2 separate regions of the Homo sapiens genome follow, and region 1 is linked to region 2. Evidence: promoter capture Hi-C in human tissues and cell types (Jung and others, 2019). All regions are on one chromosome and are shown on one strand. The core of a region is centred on a gene start or on the middle of the fragment in contact, and the rest is flanking DNA. Distances in the headings are between cores, read along the strand shown.

Region 1 (5,379 bases), core at 249-2,748, 350 kb after region 2:
AATCTGTGCAGGTAACAGAATGTCGCAAAGACTCTACCAAAAGAATGAGCCAGTGCTAACACTGAGGACGCCTGAGGAAGGTCTGAAGCCACAGTGTCCTGTGTCAATTTCCTAGTTTTAACGGGACACTAAAGTTATGTAAAATGTTACCACTGGAGACAGCAGGGTGAAGCCTAGGGAAATCTCTTTATTATTTTTGCAACACCTTGGCAGTCTATAATTCATTCTTATTTTTGCTTTTGTAGCGACAGGGTCTCACTGTGTTGCCCAGGCTGGTCTCGAACTACTGGACTCAAGTGATCCTCCCACCTCTGCCTCCCAAAGTGCCTGGATGACAGGTGTGAGCCACCACACCCAGCCTCTGTAATTCTTTAAAAATTAAAAGTTAACAAAAATAATATGAGGGCTATTTCACCACAGATGGGGGTAGGGCAGGGGGGGTTGCCATGGGTTGATGGTTTTGGGGCTGGGTGAGGGGCCTGGGGGGCTCGTTATTCCATGTTGTCTACCTTTCTGTGTAGTCAAATTCTCCATAACAGTGTTTTTATTTTTATTTTTTGCTTTACTATTTTTTGAGACCGAGTCTCACTCTGTCGCCCAGGCAGGAGTGCAGCGGCACAATCTCAGCTCACTGCATCCTCCGCCTCCTGGGTTCAAGCAATTCTCCTGTCCCCTCCCTAGTAGCTGGGACTACAGGCGCCCGCCATCACGCCCAGCTAATTTTTGTATTTTTAGTAAAGACGAGGTTTCACCATATTGGTCAGGCTGGTCTCGAACTCCTGATCTCAGGTGGTCCGCCCACCTCAGACTCCCAAAGTGCTGGGATTATAGGCGTGAGCCATCATACCCGGCCCATAATAAAGTTTTTTAAAAAAAATAATAAAGGGAACCAACACAAGAATAGCACTAAGAAGGGCCTTATCCATCCGGGTTTATAAATATCCTTCAAAATGCACAGTGTTAGAATTACGGGCCATCTCATCGAATATTCTCCCCAAAACAAAGGCCGGAGAGGCGACCAGAACTAGTTCAGTGTTTGTACAACACAGATCTAAAAGAGACACTGGATTACCCCCAGGCCAACTTCCATAATGACAGTATTAAAACACGGCATGTGAGCTTTGCCCAATACTCATGACCTCTAGATGAGCTCTCCACGGCCCCAGGATCCCAGGCACAGCCCTCCCATCTCCTCGCCACGCTGCCTTCAGACTCAGGTAACAGATGCATCCTGCCAGAGGCCACCTGCCCCAGGCCCTCATTCCAGTACAGAAACCTGCACTGCTAAGTCAGGGCATGTCTGCCTCGGGCTCCACACAAGTGTCTCCCTTTCTAAGTCCCTGTTTTTGGGTGGAAGTGAACTGCTCTAACACCAAGGTTCTGACCCTCTTTTTGTGGGGCGGGGACAGGGTCTCACTCTTTTGCCCAGGCTGGAGCACACTGGTGCAATCGTGGCTCACTGCAGCCTCAACCTCCTGGGTTCAAGCGATCCTTCTGCCTCAGCCTCCCAAGTAGCTGGGATTACAGGTGCCACCTCCATGCTCAGCTAAGCTTTTAATTTTTTTGTAGAGACTGGGTCTCATTATGTTGCCCAGCCTGGTCTTGAACTCCTGGCCTCAAGTGATCCTCCCACCTCAGCCCCCCAAAGCGCTTGGATGACAGGCATAAGCCACCCACTGCACCTGGCCCAAACTGTTTCTAAAGGAAATTAACAAGGGATGACATGAAAAGGAAGACTGAGTCAGACACCGTGGCTCACGCCTATAATCCCAGCACTCGGAGAGGCCGAGGCGAGTGGATCACCTGAAGTCAGGAGTTCAAGACCAGCCTGGTGAACAAGGTGAAACCCTATCTCTACTAAAAATGCAAAAATTAGCCGGGCACAGTGGCGCATGCCTGTAATCACAGCTACTTAGGAGGCTGAGGCAGGAGAATCGCTTGAACCCAGAAGGCAGAGGTTGCAGTGAGCCAAAATCGTGCCCTTGCACTCCAGCCTGGACAACAAAGTGAAACTCCATCTCACAAAAAAAAAAGAAGAAGAAGAAGAAGAAGACTGGGCATGGTGGCTCATGCCTGTAATCCGAGCACTTTGGGAGGCTGAGGCAGGCGGATCACCTGAGGTCAGGAGTTCAAGACTAGCCTGGCCAACATGGTAAAACCCTGTCTCTACTAATAATACAAAAAAATTAGCTGGGCGTGGTGGTGCATGCCTGTAATCCCAGCTACTGGGGGAGGCTGAGGCAGGAGAATCGCTTGAACCTGGGAGACGGAGGTTACAGTGAGCCAAGATCGTGCCACTGCACTCCAGCCTGGGCGACAGAGCAAGACTCTGTCTCAAAACAAACAAACAAACAAAAAAAAACAAAGAAAAAGAAACAGAAACAGAAAAAAGAAAGGAAGACTGGCAGACACAGCCAACAGCACGTGTGAACACGGCCCCCCTGCCCCACCATCCTTAGGCAAAGAACCAGCACTCTGCAAGCGGCTTCCACCCCAGGCCACAGGGCCCTTCACAGAGCACCCTGCCAAGCCCTCCACGGCAGCGACTCACCTCTACCACTTCAGCACTGTCCAGACAGCCACCCTCCCGTCCTCTCATCACAGACAAGGAAGCGGAGGCAAGGGACCGGCCCAGTGAGACTGTGAAATACATTTTGTCCTGTTTCCTGGCCTACGACTCCCCCAGATCCTCGGAATTCTCCAGTGTGCTAATGAGGTGACTAAGGGCTTGGCAGCCCCTCGGGAGCTGAGGGAATAGGGCTGCTCACTGAAAAGACCCAGGCTGGACGGGAGGGGAGGGGCATGTGGCTGAAGGCTGACTTGATCACCCAGGCCAATGCAGTGAGGTCACCCAAGCCTCTGCGAGGAAGCTGAGGTAAAACCCGGAGGACTGGGATGGAAGCTTCCCCACAGATGAATGCGTGGAGGTTCCTGGAGACGTCACAGCCCGGGGAGAGCACGGAACCCTCTGTGCCCCTTCCCACATCCCTCACCCTACACATGTCTTCATCTGCCTCCTTTGTAAAATCCTTTCTAATAAGCTGGTAAACGTAAGTAACAGCTCCCCTGAGTTTTGAGAGGTGCATTAGCAAATTAAGCTCAAAGAAGGGTTCATGAGGCCGGGCACGGTGGCTCATGCCTGTAATCCCAGCACTTTGGGAAGCCGAGGCGGGTGGATCACGAGGTCAGGAGATTGAGACCATCCTGGCTAACATGGTGAAACCCCGTCTCTACTAAAAATACAAAAAATTAGCCGGGCGTGGTGGCGGGCACCTGTAGTCCCAGCTACTCCGGAGGCTGAGGCAGGAGAATGGCGTGAACCCAGGAGGCGGAGCTTGCAGTGAGCCTAGATCGCACCACTGCACTCCAGCCTGGGAAACACAACAAGACTCCGTCTCAAAAAAGAAAAAAAAAGAAGGGTTCATGAGAAGGCTGGTTTCCAGCGCGTCCAGCAGAAGCTCAGGACACAGCCTGGGGCTTGTGACTGGCATGGGCCGTGGGGTTAGGTACGTGGGGAGGAGCCCGCAGCCTGTCCTGCCCGATGCAGCCCCCAGGTAGGAGTGAACTGAACGGAGGGCCCCAGCTCCTGCCCCTGCACCGCTTTGCTCGCGTGTGCTGGAAGGGATCTGTGACTGCTCTGACAGCCTGGGAGAAACTGAGTTTGTTATTCCCACGTTCTCAGGCCCAAGACCACATCGCTGTGCAGGAAGTGGCCGAGCTGGGGGCGTGAAACCAGCTGCTGCACCCTGGGAGTAGCAGTGATCTCCCCACTCCACATTCAACCCACCAGCCAGGCCTATCCTGTCTACCTCCAAAAGCCACCCCCAGTCCAGGCCGCAGCCCCAGCCCAGACCCCCTTCTCCTGAGCCATTGCCATGAATCACCTGGGCGACGCCTGGAGTTTCCCGACAGGTCCCCTGCTTTCACTCCTGACAGCCACCAGAGAGGTCTTTAAAACACATATACTGGCCGGGCGCAGTGGCTCACGCCCATCATCCCAGCACTTTGGGAGGCCTGACAGCAGAAGCATTGCCATCCCGGACAAGCCCCTCATTCTAAAAGTTCACCTTAATAAAAGACCGCTAAATCCAAAGGGTATCAGCCTAACAGCTAAGATCAGCATGACCATAAACCACAAATAGCATCTCCAGCCAGAAACATCGCAAACTCCTCCCCAACCAGAGACATGCCAGCCCCGAGATAACCCCCCTCCGGCCGGGAAGATGTCTGCCCCAAGATAACCTCCCCTCCTCCCAGACAGATTCCAGCCCTGCCATAAACTTCTCCACACACAGAAACGTTCCAAGCTTGTGATAAGCCCCTTCACCCTAAAACCAATATATACTCTTAGTCTATAAGAGAAAGCGCTCCTGACCGCAATCGGCCAAGAGCGCCTCTCAGGTTTTAACTAAAGAAAACTTGCCTTTAACTGCCAGCTGCATTTTGTGTTTCTTTCCTCTTTCTTTAACTCTTACAAGGCCGAGGAGAGCAGATCACCTGAGGTCAGGAGTTTGAGACCAGACTGGGCAACATGGCGAAACCCCATCTCTACTAAAAATATAAAAATTAGCCAGGCGTAGTGGCGGGCGCCTGTGATCCCAGCTACTCAGGAGGCTGAGGCAGGAGAATCGCTTGAACCCAGTAGGCAGAGGTTGCAGTGAGCCGAGAGATTGTGCCACTACGCTCCAGCCTAGGCGACAGAGCAAGACTCCGTCTCACAAAAAAAAAAATAAAATAAAATAAAAATAAAAAAAGGCATAAACCTCTGACAGCAGTGCCTCCAGCCTTTGCCCTCACGGCTGACTAGGCAGCAGGCACTGCTGCTCCGGCCTCTGTGCCCCTGCAGTCCTCTCTGCTCCTGCCAGCTCAGTGAGCTGCGCCTCGTTCCGCCTTGGGGCCTCCGCACGTGCTGCCTGCACTTCTTTGGAGCACTCTTGTCCCAAATCCTGCAAAGGTGGGCAGGTGTGAGTCGCTCAGAGGTCTCTGACTGAATGTCACCTGCTGGGAGAGGCCCTCCCTGTTCCCCCGGCTAAAGCAGCGCCGCCCCTCGAGGGCCCTAATCCAGGCTCTCTCCAGTCCTCACGTCTTCCTCGCCGGCCCCTCAGCACCTGGCCTGGCACAGTAAACATGGAGACGCTGGAGGACACAGCCTCCCGAGCCCTCCTCTGTGCCCGCCGACCTGCCATGGCAGGGGGCAGGTGCCTTCGCTGTCTTCTGCTATCAGGGACAGCAGAGTCAGCTGACTGTGAAGAGCACCCCTGAAGCTTCTACTTGGCAGCCAGGACCAAGAGTCCCCACGGCCAGCGCTCAGTGGCCATCACCCGTTTACTCCGCCATCGCCCCACAGGGAGGCACACGGAGACACTGCCCCAAGTCAGT
Region 2 (5,733 bases), core at 1,804-4,303:
GGGACTACAGGCACGCGCCACCACGCCCAGCTAATTTCTGTATTTTTAGTAGAGATGGGGTTTCACCATGTTAGCCAGGCTGGTCTCAAACTCCTGAGCTCAGGCAATCCACCTGCCTTGGCTTCCCAAAGTGCTGGGATTACAGGCGTGAGCCACCGCACCTGGCCAACGTATTTTTTGTTTGAGAGGGAGTCTCACTCTGTTGCCCAGCTGGAGTGCAGTGGTGTGATCTCAGCTCACTGCAACCTCTGCCTCCCAGGTTCAAGCAATTCTCCTGCCTCAGCCTCATGAGTAGCTGGGACTACAGGCATGCACCATCACACCTGGCTAATTTTTGTATTTTTAGCAGAGACAGGGTTTTGCCATGTTGGCCAGGCTGGTCTCGAACTCCTGACCTCAGGTGATCCACCCGCCCTGGCCTCTCAAAGTGCTGGGATTACTGGCATGAGCCACCGCGCCCAGCTGCTACAATGTATTTTAATTCTGTTTTTGATGTATTTAATCTGTTTTCTTTGACTGCTCACAAAATCCCTCAGAGGTACTAGTGGTTGTCCCCCTTTTCTAGATGGGGACAGCTAGGCTTACAGTGTTGCGGCCACTTGTTTGAGGTCACCTCCCAAACAGGTCACTGGGCTGGGGTTCGTGCCATGATCAGCCCCTCCACGATCAGCCATCTCATTTTACTGTGTCTCCACCAATTCTCCAAGGCTTCAGCACCCACTGTGCGTGAGAAACCACGCTAAGCATTTGTGCACAGACCACCCCATTTGATCCTTCAAGATGGGATCGTGTTCCCATTGCTTGGATGAGAAAACTGAGGCCAGATTGTAAACGGTCAGATCAGGGTCACCCCACCAGGAAGAAAAACAAAGTAGGCTCTGCAAACGTGGCTGCTGCACTGGCCGCTGGGAAACTCCAAGCTTAAATTAGGTTCCTTGTTAAATTATTCATTATCTCCTCTCTTTTCTCCTGTTTATGACTTCCGCCTTATCGTTTTGTTCCCCGGGTTAATGCTTTTTGTTTATCTGCATCTGTGGCCTGGAATGAATGAATCAACAATTTTGGAGGAAAAAAAAAACCAATTCTAAAGTTGAGTTCCTCTGTTGGGCACCAGGCCTTCTCCAAATATGTGCCTTGAGGAAATAAATGCTTTCGACATGATCAAAACACAAGGACTGATGTGCAATCTTGCTTGGTGGCTGTGAGCCCTCCAACCCCCTTACCTTTGTCAATATCCCCCTTTTATTTACTTCCGCTCTGTTTTTTTTCCTTATTTTTGAGAGTCTCACTCTGTCGCCCAGGCTAGAGTGTGCAGTGGTGTGATATTGGTTCACTGCAACCTCCGCCTCCCGGGTTCAAGAGTTTCTCCTGCCTCAGCCTCCCAACTAGCTGAGACTACAGGCACCTGCCACCACGCTCGGCTAATTTTTGTATTTTTAGTAGAGATGGGGTTTCGCCATGTCGGCCAGCCTGGTCTCGAACTCCTGACAAGTGATCTGCCCACCTTGGCTTCCCAAAGTGCTGGGATTACAGGCATGAGTCACCGGGCCCGGCCTCTTTTCTCTTATTATTCCATCTTCAGGCACCAATGGCAGCCAGGCTGCCACATTATAGCAATTCATCATCACACCCTCCTTAGGAGCAGGGGCTACCTTGCCCCATTTTACAGATGAGAGCTGAGATCCAGAGGCAAATCCATTCTACAGATGGGGAAAGTGAGGCTCCGGGCCTCACACAGCAAATCAGTGTTTTAGCTGGGTTCCAACTGTGGCTCGTCCTGACTCCAGGGAAGCAGGGGATGGTAATTAGGTGAGACCTGTGTAAAGTGCTTACTCTATAAGAAGTGCTCCATCATCCATTCATTCATGTGTTCAACCTACAATAGGGATCTCTGGAGCCACACTGTAGTGTAACTAGAATAAAAACGGGATAATGGGACCAGGCGCGGTGGCTCACGCCTGTAATCCCAGCACTTTGGGAGGCCGAGGTGGACGGATCACTGAGGTCAGGAGTTCAAGACCAGCCTGGCCAACATGGTGAAACACTGTCTCTAACAAAAATACAAAAATTAGCCAGGCGTGGTGACAGCACGCCTGTAATTCCAGCTACTCCGGAGGCTGAGACAGGAGAATAGCTTGAATCCAGGAGGCGGAGGTTACAGTGAGCCGCGATCACGCCACTGCATTCCAGCCTGGGCGACAGAGTGAGACTCCGACTCAAAACCAAACAAACAACAACAACAACAACAAACCGGGATAATGGGATAGAGTGGAGTGGGGCGTGGCTGGTAGCTGTTGTCAGGGAGGGCTTCTCCCAGGCGCTGCTTATTTGAGCAGAAATTGGAAAGATGAGAAGGGGAAGTTCTTGGATGCTCAAGTTAGAGGAACTGTAAGAAGCTGGCTGAGGCGGGAGGATCACCCGAGCCCAACTACTCAGGAGGCTGAGGCGGGAGGATCACCTGAGCCCAGGAGTTTGAAGCTGCAGTGAGCTATGATCATACCACTGTACTGAGGCCCAGGTGGCAGACCCCATCTCTGAAAAAGCAAAGAAGGAGCAGCTGGTTTTTCTGGATCATTGACATGGTGGGGGGGAGGGGACAGGGTAGTGGGCGCTAATGTGAAACGGCGAGCTGCAGAGAGGAGGCGGGATTTTATTCCAAGGGTACTGGGGAGCCGTGGCACAGTTTAGGGCAGCGCACAGAAAGTGCCATGCCCTTTGCACCCAGGACGCTGGGGCTCCCGCACGGACAGTAGCCCCAGGGGCCCTTCCCGCCGCCGCCGCAGCCGCCACCACCACCACCACCCCAGCCGCCCACGTGTCCCGCGAAGCCCCGCGCCCCACGTGCTCCCGCGGCCCTTTAAACACCCCGGAGCCACGTGACCGCGCTGCGCCGTCCCATTGGCCGGGGGGCGTGGCGGCCGCGCGGCTGCGCAGTGACGCGCACGGGCCGGCCCTGCCCCCGACCCGGCGGCGGCGGCGGCGGCGCTGGCGGAAGGGATGACGTCACCGGCTGGGGGGGCGCGCGAGCGGGAGCTAGGGGAGCGCGAGCCGCAGTGAGTGTCCTCGCGCCGCCCGCCCGGCAGCCCGGCCGGCGCGCGCACGCCGCGAGCCGCTGGCGCTCGGGCTCCGCTCGGATCCCATGCAACAGCCACGATGTGAAGCGGGGCAGAGCCGGGGGAGCCCAGCCCAGCCAGCCTCCAGGTAAAGCCAAAAAAAAAAATAAAATCATGGATTAGAGGAAAAAAAAATGCAGGCGCTCCAAGGGGGGTCTCGGAGGCAGCCGAGTGGGCAGCGCGCCGGCTTTGTGCCGGGGAAGCCTGCACGGCCATTGTGCTCGGAGGATGCTCGGCTGCAGCCAGTTGCACGCCCAGCCGCTGCGCCCCGGTAGCTGCGCCCGGACAATGCCCCGAGGGACAGGGCCGGGGCCGCGCTGGGGGCGCTCGGCAGGGGGTGCTGGGGGGGCTTCGTCCGCGGCGTGGGAGGGGGCTGGGCTGGAAGCGCCCAGAGCGCGGCATTGGAAGCTGCCCAGCGCCGCCGGCTGCACCACCCCGGGCTGCGGGCGGGGCAGAGGCGCGGAGGGGGGCGCGCGTGTGTGCGGAGCCGGTGCCGGCCCCGGCGGCGCCCGGCCCGGGTCCCCGGGCGGGTCCTGGAGGCAGGGGGCGCTGTGCCGGGGGATGGGGGGCATGCGGGCGCCCCGGAGCGGAGAGGAGCCGGGACGGGTGGCTCCAGGCGGGGTGGCTCCAGGGCTGCTGCGCCCGCCGCCTTCCCTCTCCGGGTCTCCCTCCCCTGGAGACCCCCTAGTCTACGCCGTCTCCCCTGGAACACTCCGGGCCCTGTCGTTGCCTTATGGGAGGTCGCCCCTCCGGCACTCGGGCATTGCCCCACCCTTCTGCGGCCTCGGCGCCCCCTTCCAGCCTCCCCACCCAGGGGCGAGCCTCAGCCCCCAGCCCCAGGGGCTCTGGCAGGCAGACGCGCACGCCCAGCACCCCAGTCTCCCCTCCGCGCTGGGGGCCCCGTGGGGATCCCGAGAGTGGGGAAGCCGCCCCTGGAACCGCCAGCCCCGCGGGTTCCGCACGCCCCGGGAGCCCCCGGGGGCTGCGGGGGGAGGGGAGGTGACGTCATACCGGGGGCGGGGCCGTCGGCACTGGGTTAAAGGGGGCGCGGGGCGTGCCCTGAGGGGAGCCCCCCAGGTTAGAGTGCCCGCGCCGTGGGTGCGAGGGTTCGGCCAGGTTGCGGCCAAGTTCACCTCTCTTTATGGGAATCTCTCCTAAAATTAAGATCCTCCCCTTCGGACCTCCCCCTACAAATCCTGGACATTTCCCACCAATTCCCCCCCTTCCCAAATTGGGGAACTCCCCTTCGGCCGCTTTCTCTCCAGAATCCTCAAATCAGGGAACCTTTCCCACAAACTGGGAATCTTTTTTTCAGCCACACCCCCCGCCCCAAATCTGGGACCTCCTTCTTCGGTTGACCCTCTTTCCCCAGTCTCAAATCGTCTTCTCGTCTCCCTAAATATGCAGCTTCCAAGAACGCCCCTTCCTCTGCAACCCTTCCTCAAATCCAGCCACCTCCTGGGACCTCATTCCCCCAAATTAACAAACCTCCCAGAGCCTCATTGGGGGTGCCTTGCCTCCCCCTTCTGGGCTCAGCTGGGATTCCCCTGTCCCCCCCCGTCACAATCTAGGGGAGCCCCCTTCTGAGCATGGGGTCCTCCTGCCTCTGGCCGAGACCCTAAAAACACATCCCGGCAGCCGCGGCTAGTGAAGCGGGTGTCCGAGGTGTCGGAGTCCCGGCTGAGCAGCAGGGATGATACCTAGAAGCCGGAGGAGGCAGGAAGAGACCCCTAGGGTCCCAAGGACAGGGACCCACACGCTCCGGGCTCCCGTCCGCCACCACCCGGACTTTGGCTGCTGGGATTCTGGCCTCCTCTGGGTGGCCCCCTATCGCTGCTGTCCTTGGGGTGCAGAGGGTGACGGCGCCTCTTTGTCTGGGGCGCCCTTCTTCCCTCTTTCTGCCGCCTTTCGCCCGGGAGAAGGAAGCCATCCCGCTCCTCTGCTCCTGCGATACCAGCGGCAGCTGCTGGAGCGTTTATTAATGGCCCAGGGACTTGGTCGAATCTGCCATTTGCATAAGTCCCCTCCCCCTCCCAGGGTCCCTTCCTTTGTGCCCCCCTCCCCCTGCCAATCGCGCCTGCCTTCTGTCCCTCTGCTCTTCTTTCTTTGCCAGCTGATATTTTGGCGGTGGAAGGCAGGCAGCTGGGGCTGGGGGCGGCTGCTTCCCGCCCTCAAATCCCACAGCCCCCCAGCTTGGGCCTGACTGAGTCCCCACCTGGGCATCCCTCCCCTACCCCCCCGCTGCCCTCCACAAAGCCTTCCGTGGGGCATCTCTTTCTGGCTGGCAGGCTGGCGGAGTCTTCATTATTTCCCTCCGGGAAGCAGGGTCCTGCCCTGTTCCCCAGGCCCGGGGGACACCCTCATCATGACGGTGCACTTCTGCATGGGGGCTAGGCCTCCCAGCCCCCTGGGGGCCACCGCCCGCCATACTCCATCATCCTGAGAGTTGTTCTAATTGGGCTCAGGCAAACAAAACGTCGCAGGAGACCCAGGCTGCCTGGTGAGCTCACGCACTTTTCTATTTCTGCCACCCTGGCCGATGACATTGCCCCTAACCCCCCAGGGGGTGACAGAGACTGGTACTGTCAGTGGCCGTCCAGAGATGCCGTCCCAAGAGGCG

Evidence for each region. The method cuts DNA at HindIII sites, captures the fragments that hold promoters and counts their contacts. A contact is called where the count stands out against the background at its distance.
Region 1: a contact is called between a fragment that was not itself captured here and the fragment with the promoter of PTPRS in region 2, in 2 of the 25 tissues and cell types used here (H1 embryonic stem cells and dorsolateral prefrontal cortex).

Annotation. Positions count from the first base shown.
Region 1 is chr19:4,986,313-4,991,691 of GRCh38, reverse strand. The region is part of intron 1 of KDM4B (lysine demethylase 4B); the gene reads right to left. Among named protein-coding and RNA genes, the nearest start is that of KDM4B, 20 kb to the right of the region's middle. RefSeq lists enhancers at 923-1,422, 1,423-1,924, 2,141-2,645, 2,646-3,151. The HindIII fragment of the contact is 6,577 bases long and covers 1-4,786 here.
Region 2 is chr19:5,338,132-5,343,864 of GRCh38, reverse strand. It overlaps PTPRS (protein tyrosine phosphatase receptor type S), which reads left to right and starts at 3,053. Exons shown (of 38, transcript NM_002850.4): 1 at 3,053-3,201. RefSeq lists a silencer at 2,846-3,125 and an enhancer at 4,992-5,665. The HindIII fragment of the contact is 6,208 bases long and covers 181-5,733 here.